Linked DNA regions of Homo sapiens: region 2 is linked to region 1. The links are contacts of gene promoters, found by promoter capture Hi-C in human tissues and cell types (Jung and others, 2019). All regions are on one chromosome and are shown on one strand. The core of a region is centred on a gene start or on the middle of the fragment in contact, and the rest is flanking DNA. Distances in the headings are between cores, read along the strand shown. Region 1 holds the start of KRTAP19-8 (keratin associated protein 19-8). Region 2 overlaps LOC105372776 (a long non-coding RNA gene).

Region 1 (4,244 bases), core at 507-3,006:
AAAATACACACAACATAAATTTAATAACTTAGAAAGAACCTCCATGTAACCACTTCCAGATCAAAACATGGAAAATTGCCAGCACCTCAGAAGTCCCCCTCAAGTCCTCCCATGAATACTGTCTTCCCAAAGGTAACGACTATCCTGACTTCTAACCCTGTAATGTCGTTTTTCTTGTCTAAAAACTTAAATAAATGGGCTCATACTGTATTTATTCTACTATGCCTGGGTCCTTTCACTCCACATTATGATCGTGAGGTTCAGCCAGGTTGTTGCCTATAGCTCTAGTTTGGCCATTGTCATTGCTGTGTAATATTCCATTGTAAGACTATACTGCAATTTATTTTTCCATTATACTGTTGATAGACATTAGGTTGTTTATGGTGAAGTCCAGACGTGCACATTTTCCAGTTATGTGGCAAATATCTGTAGCTTGCCTTGAAAGCAAATAATTTTTCATTTATGCTTCTTGACAAAATGCAAGGCATTCTGCCTGACCCTGTAAGGGTGTACATATGGAGTGCTACTGTTGAGGTTTTTTGTCAGCTGCTGGGGCAAAAATAAACTCCACCTAGGGTGGGAGATATTTGACCAGAGTGTGTGAGTATGTGTGTGTATAAGAGGAAATGGGGTGAGAAGAGGGTGGAGAGCTATAAAAGAACACCATTATCCCCAAATTATCCCCAAACCACTGGACAGATTAAAAATGATTTTATATTATAACACTGATGAGCAAGTTTCTTAATCCACAAATATTCTTGACTGCCTTATACATGCCAGGTATTGTCATGACCACAGAATATACAATGGTGAATTAACACACACACAGATCCTGGAAGCTTGGGTCTGGTTCTGTGAAATGAATCAATAGAAATGAAACCAAGTGAGATATACCAGCCACAGAAAGACAAATACTGCCCGATTCCACTTTACATGAGGCATCCAAAAGAGTGAAATTTGTAGAATCCAAGAGTAGAATGGCAGTTACCAAGGGCTGGGTGAAGGGAGAAATAGGCAGTTACTGACAAAGAGGCATGAAGTTTAAGTCAGGCAAGGTGAACGGACCTTAGAGATCAGCTATACAGTATGGTACCTGTAGTCGACAATAATGTATGGTTGACTCAAACAGTTGTTAGGAGGGTAGATCTCATGTTAAGTGTTCTTACCACAGTAAAACAGAAAAAAAAATTAAACCAAATTTGCTCTACTATTAAAATTAGTTTATTGAAATAGAAGAAGAGTTGGTGCCATGTTGATATATTAATAAGGGAAGAGAGGGATTCACAGCTTGAAAGGTGGGATTCTAGGTCATTCTACAGGAAGGGCTCCCCTTGCTGCTGCCACTGATTCTGTTGTGTTTGTTGCCAGAATTGAGTCTTGACTTTGAAGAGTTCACAAGGCACCCTTTGCTGCTTTGTCTGGTTTATCAAGAAAGTGGCTGCGCAATTCACAGAGGGGGTAAAAAGACCTGAAAGGAGAATTAAGTCAGGATGATAGACAGATTCTAGTGATCCAAAGAATGAGTTCACTCTTCAGTAGAAGGCAGAGAATCCATATCCTCCGTAGTATAATGGTCGGCAACAGCTGAATCCATAGCCTCCGTAGCCACAGCCATAGCCCAACCTGCGGAAGCTGCCATAGCCGCAGCCATAGCCATAGCCCCAGCCACCAAAGCCTCCATAGCCATAGCCCAGGCCTCCATAATAGCTTCTGTAGTAGCTCATGGTTCAGCAACTGTAGATGTGTTTGGAGGTCAAGGGCAAGTTTCCTGAGTACAACTATCACCAGCTTCCCTGGGACTTTTATACATCCTCAGTGATTAGTGGGGTAGACTTCTCATGGCGTAGATTCAATTGCATGAAAAAAAACTCACTCATCTTAAAACTGTAGGACAATTCCTGACACTAATTAAAGATGTTTTCATTCGATTTCTGTGCAGTTTGGATTCCACAGGATGATTATGCTGTCTTCAAAGCCCTCTTGCTTTGACCATCATAGTTAAAGCTCTATAATCAGACATAAGAGCAGCAATCAGCTCCCATTTTGTCACCTAAAATTGTTCTTTCATTACAGCCCCTTCCCAGTATCCAATTCTTAATGTATTCCTTGCACAAATATTTAATGCCCAACTAATGCATCCCAGGCACTATGCTCAGAGCTAGAGATATGGCTGTAAATAAGAACTGCCCTTCCCAATCCCATGAGTTTTTCCCCTTCATCTTTGTTATTTAAGTTAGTGAAGTAATAGAAGAGGTACACTTACTGTATAAATCCAACAAAATGTAGCTGATAGCACAAAAGGATCACATTTATTTTTTTAAGAGAGAGAGAAAAACCCAAATGGAAAAATTTTGTTTCCTTACACATTACTACCCTTTTAACTCAATGTTGTTTATGAAACTTTTGATAGCTCTTAGCTCTTACTGCAAGACTTTTTCATTATTCAATGTTTATATAGGAAATAACACTAGGGGCAAGAGCCGTGGGTGTGATTTTTGCAAAGTGATACCATATTCTTCATCTTTGTAATCTTCTTTTTAAAAAATAATCTTCTAAAGAGATTAACATCTGAGTACTGGATCTACCCATCTGACTCCACAGTCACAGGTAGGCAGGCAGCCCTCTCTGCCTTACTAAATTCCTAACACAATCAGCAAAGAGGTTTTAAAAAGCTGTTTTCCAAATTCTGGGATTCCATCTTCTGCTCTCTAAGGAAACCTTAATTAAACTACAATTTACAGAAATATGTAAAATTAAAAATACTTAAATATGACATTTTCTTTTTGAAGAATGAAGCCCACTGAAGTGTTCATGATAAGGGTCAGAATCACTTCTACTTAGCCATTGGTATCAAAACCAATTTCAAGCACATAAGCAGTACGACTATTCTATATACTATTAATAATCACTTCAGATAGAATAATATAATATCAGAACTGGTGTAACCCTCTTACTTTACAGATGATGAAACAGAATTGGAGAAGATTGGTCAGATCACCCAGTGAGTGACAAAACCCAGACTAGAACCTAAATCATTCACTTTCACCTGTTTTTTTTCATCATCACATTTTTATAGATGTTGTACAACAAAGGCAAAAGCAAGAAATATTGTATTATCACAACAGAAGAATGAAAATGCTCCTTTGCTTTCTCGGTTGGTGAGCTTTCTCATTTTGATTTTTGATCTATATGCTGATTGGTCTGTTCCTTTCCTTTGGGCCAGAACTCAAAGGACTAAAATTAGCAAGTGGACACTGAAAGTCACATCCACTTATTCTCAATGAGATTACAATGGAGATGCCTGTTGCATTGATTGTTCAAGAGATGTAAAACTGAGAGGGGAGAACAAAAATAGGTTCAAAAGTTTTGAAGTGGAAAGTTGAAGCCCAACTCTTTCTTGTCTTAGAGTTAAAAGTATATGTATTCACTAAGAGATAAATATTAAAGCAAAACAAGATGTAAAATGGGACTCAGTTTTAGCTGAGAACCTGTATCATCAGTGACAACAGCTCTCACATCCCCAAGAAAGGTGGTAATCTACCTAAGAAGGACTTGCAAAGGGAGCTACAGAAACCTAGATCCGCAGTCTGCAACTAATTGAAATCACCTTTGCAATAATTTTAACTGAGAAAATTATAACAGTGAAAGAGATCTGATCTAACCGATTCCTTCTTGCTTCTAACCTCTAAGCTGTCCTTGTTCATTCCTGGGTGTAGGCCAAACTAACTTTGGGAGGAATTTAGTTTATAGTTTAACTTCAAAACAAGGATGATAACAGCCCTTTCCTGAGATGAACCCCCTTCTTGCATGAGGACCAGTCTGCCTTTGTAGGACTAACAAATGAACTATAAGATTAGAAGCCAGGTGTGGTGGCTCACCTGAGGTCAGGAGTTTGAGACCAGCCTGACCTATATGGTGAAACCCCATCTCTACTAAAAATACAAAAATTAGCTGGGCATGGTGGCGGGCACCTTGGGAGGCTGAGACAGGAGAATTGCTTGAACCCAGGAGGCGGAGGTTGCAGTGAGCCAAGATTGTACCACTGCACTCCAGCCTGGGTGACAGAGCAAGACTCCATCTCAAAAAAAAAAAAAAAAGATTAGAAAGTATGGCTTCAGAGTCATGCCACCAGAGGCTCCAGCTGCAAGATTCTCAACCTCCCTAAGTTGCTCCTGGGAATAACATCACTGTCGTAAAACCTAAGATCAGCACTTGAAATATTTTGCAGACTTTGCCTTCTGATG
Region 2 (4,244 bases), core at 726-3,225, 37 kb before region 1:
TAATCCTTCGCTCTGAGAAGGATTAGTAATGTCTTCTGAGCAGACATGAGGAGGCTTTAATTAACACCCAGGCCCTCAAATCCTTTAACAGTAGATGTAGCTCAGGAAGGCCATGCAACGCCTGTTGATGGCTTGTCCCAAATGTCATCGTGACCCAAGCTAAGTGATGAGCTTATTGAACATCTGACATTGATGAGCTTCTTTTGAAATAGGTTTCATTTTTCTCCAAGCACTTCCTTCCAACGTACCTGGTCTGAGTCCTGTTCCCAGTTCTTGACGGCAAAGGAGCTTATTGGTCAGTTGCAGTGGTAAGAAGGGCCTTCTTATAAATTGATTTCTGCAGACATGACTCACTAATGTAACTTAAACTTCAGCCTCAGGTCCATGTCACAACACAAGCCTGGCCCTGGAGTGGGGATGTGTAATGGGGGCCATACTCTCTCTTCTCCCTCCCTGTCCTGACACCTGTTCCTCCAGAGCCAGGCAGGTGGGAACCAGATCAGAGAAGAAGAGGCACACGTCCCTCCTCCCGGGTGCTAGTGAGTTACCCACTGGGAGATGTCCACATACTGGCTCTTTCTTGGGGTGCATGGAAGAGTTTTCAAAAGCCTGCAGGGAACTTTACCCTGGTAGGTCCCCTATAGGGGCGATCTGCTCTGCTGTCTCCAGTTCCTGCCCTAACAGTGCATCCACACAACTGTTACTGCTGTAATTCCCTGACCACCGCAGGATATCCTCTTGGCCATTGTATCCTCAAGGCACTTTTGCCAGGTTATCGCCCATTATTTCATTTGGTCCATAGGAATGCATACATTTGTACCAGACAAAAGGTGTGAGTGTCACCCTCCCAGCTGCCTTCTCTCAACTTCCTGACATCACAAACTGCTCTTATCAGCCTTCCCTCTCCACAGTTATGAAAGCAAGCAAGAGGTACAAGCTCATAAACTCACGTGCATGCACAGACTCCGGGAAATGTGTCACATTCTCCCAAGAAGGTTCTCACCACCCCCTACCACACGGAGACGGATCTTTGGATTTCTTCAGCTAAGCAGGCCTCCAGTCACTAAATCAGTCTCCGCTCTTGTTGGCATGCTCCTATCTCCAAAAGGCGACCTGGAGCCCTGGCCCTCAGGCAGCATAAGGAGGGAACAGAGCCTCACTGCCTAAGACCTCTTGCTAGATCAGTAACCACTCTTTCCATGAATCCCCCTTTCTACCAATGCTCTTCTTGAATGAAATGTCATGAAATCTAGTCTTCTCTTTACATAGAGTGTGGGGGTAGCACAACAATCCACTCTTCTTTAGTGAGGCATTTGGAAGAGGAATTTGCCACCTCCTAGCATTCCCTTTAAGATATGGAAACACCTACTGCTTATTATCCTCAGCTTTGGGACTTTAGCTGAAAGCCCTGACAATAGGAAATGTCTCCTTCGGCATCCCGTTAATCTGTGTGCAGCTGCATTATAAATAGTATTACTGGCAGGGTACCATGGCTCACGCCTGTAATCCCAACTCTTTGGGAGATCACCTGAGGCCAGGAGTTCAAGACTAGCCTGGGCAACATGGAGAAACCTTGTCTCTACTAAAAATAAAAAAAAAAAATAGCTGGGCGTGGTGGCACATCCCTTTAACCCCAGCTACTCAGATAGCTACTCACTTGCTGAGGCACGTGAATCGCTTGAACCTGGGAGGTAGAAGTTGCAGGGAGCCGAGATTGTGCCACTGCTCTCCACCCTGGGCGACAGAGACTCTGTCTCAAAAAATAAAGTATTATTTAAATTCTTGGCAATCTGAGATGTTGACCAGGTAGAGGGTTTATCCCACCAGATACAATAAAAGATAGATCCTATTGCATCTAATAGTAACTCAGCTGGCCAGGGTCTGTGCTAAGGCATGCAAAATAAACACTGGGAAGGCAAGGGTAGTGACAGCAGGAAGAAAAGGAATAAATAAACCTATCACACGCCAGCATCATGAAGATGTTACCGAGAGCCCATGGCTATTGGGATCCTGAAGTAACACGAGGAAACAAAGATCAGTTTCACACACAGAAATAGGGAAGACATGTTGATGTCATGAAGATCCTCAAAGGGACCTCAGGGATGACCATCCTTACCGTAGCTCTAAAGTGACAACCTGAGCCAGGCTTACATCACAAAGAGGAGAATAAGAGAAACCCTCATCCCATGGTGACATCCCAAGACTGTCTCCTGATCTAGCCCCCTCCCATCACCACGCCAACCAGGAGGCGTCAGCCTGGCACTAACGCGGAGATGTCTGTGCTCAGGGTCTGCCTGTTTTCTCTTGGGAGCTGTGGGGATCTTGTGTTGCTCACTGCTACTTCTTGGACTTTCAGCCTTCTCCATGCGCAGCATCAATAGCTGAGAAAACATTCCGAATCACACTGACCCTATTTATTAAGCAAAGGAAGAATATTCTAAGATATAAGGAACAGCTGATTACTGCTATAATGTTGTTTAATAGATAAGAACTAAAGGATGTTGGAAGGTTGTGACATTGGTCAACCAGAAGGAAATTTAGAAGGAAATGTTAACCAGGGTAGCCTTGATGCCAGCCCCCCATTTCTTAGAAGTTGAGAGCTAAAGGGTATCAGAACAGCTCCTGAGCGTCCCAACAAGGATTCCTAGATTTACTCAATTTGAAGATACCATCAATTGTGAGACACAACAAAAAATGGGAGGAAATAACAATTCACCAAAATTTTAAACATTCGATCAATAGTAAGGTGCTTCTCAATTTCATAAATATTAAAATGTGATGGGAAAAACTAATCAGAAAAAGAGAATAATTAAATGACTCCTAGGACTAGAAGAAAACCTCGAAAGGTCTTTCAGCTGACCCCATGCCTTGAGGCGGGCCCCTACACTTCCGCCCAAATCAGAGAAAGTCTGACTAATGTTAAAGATTAGGTTCTTTTCATTTTCCATGCCATTCCCTCAGTGAGAGTGAATTATAATTTGCCACGAATATAAAGAAGAGAGAAAAAAGTACATACAATTTGCATACTAAAAATTGGAATACTAATGAAGACAAATCACTCCCCTCTGGGAGATGATCTGCTACTAAAATCCTTTTCCTCTGCTTTTAACTTGGCTTAGTGAAAAATAAATAATTTTTTTAAACTGCAGGGGGTGGGCAATGAGCTTCATTTAGAAAGTATTTCAAAGGTACCCTGGCTTTGTGCATTTTAAACATGAATTTCAGTAGATGCATTTATCTTTTTAACTATATTGTGCACGCATGCTAAGTTATATATGGCTCTTACAAGAATACGAAATTAGAATCTGCCCCACTGCAGAGAAAAGTGAAACACTCTTCATTATACCAGGCAGTGTAGGGTAACCTCCGGCTTTGAGTCAGCTGAACCTAAGTTTGAAATTCAACTTTATAACTCACTTCGGCATCCCACCTCTATCTCTTGAACTTCTGTTTCTTGATTTATAAAATGGTGCAAATAATTCCCACACGTTACATTCAGGAATCGGTGAGATAACAGGTGTATATAACACTTTACACAGTGCCAGGGATTCGGTAAGGTTTTGGTCTATCATCTCGGCCCCTTTAAAAACAACCATTATAATAGAGTTTTTCAAAGTAAATGCTAATTTTAAAGTGAATCACATTGTTCCTAATTATGCTGGTTTAGATTGCAACTTTCATGGGAAATGAGGAGGCAGCATTTTGTTTTTACTTAATAAACAAATGGTGCCTAGTTTATGCCACGCTCCATATGAGGTGTGAGAATGGACAGAGAGAAGACTGTGACACAGTTCTGGTTCCCCAAGGTTCCACCATCTAGTAGCCCACTGAGGAGCAGGGCGAAGCCTCGCCAGACACAGTGAGCCAGGCTCTAATAGAGGCATGGTACCAGGGGCAGGGCCCTCAAAGAGGCGTCTGACAACCTGGAACACTGAAAAGGGCTCCATAGAGGTACAGGAACTGGAGTACAGCAAGATGTGGATGAAGCAGGGTGGGGTCTGCAGTGAGAACTGGATGCCCTGTTGCTCAGAAGGAAGGGAATCGGCTCTCATCACGGCTGTCAGCCAAGGGGCCCGGGGAAGAGAACACGCCTTCTATCTGCATAGCTGCCGGAGCATCCAAAGGTCCAGAAAGGTCTGGGCTCCTTCAACTTTATTCCTCAGGGACTCTGCAAAGCCTCAGATCAACTTTCTGACCGGCCCTGCTTGGCTTCCTCTTCTCCTGTCTCAGGATTCCACGGCCTG

The links. Contacts are between HindIII fragments. The study calls those that stand out against the background at their distance.
Region 2: a contact is called between a fragment that was not itself captured here and the fragment with the promoter of KRTAP19-8 in region 1, in 1 of the 25 tissues and cell types used here (adrenal gland).

The regions. Positions count from the first base shown.
Region 1 is chr21:31,036,720-31,040,963 of GRCh38, forward strand. KRTAP19-8 (keratin associated protein 19-8) reads right to left here and starts at 1,757. Exons shown (of 1, transcript NM_001099219.1): 1 at 1,440-1,757. The coding sequence starts at 1,724. The coding sequence ends at 1,533. RefSeq lists an enhancer at 2,467-2,636. The HindIII fragment of the contact is 7,103 bases long and covers 1-4,244 here.
Region 2 is chr21:30,999,537-31,003,780 of GRCh38, forward strand. All of the region lies in intron 1 of LOC105372776 (a long non-coding RNA gene), which reads right to left. Among named protein-coding and RNA genes, the nearest start is that of KRTAP19-8, 37 kb to the right of the region's middle. The HindIII fragment of the contact is 6,939 bases long and covers 1-4,244 here.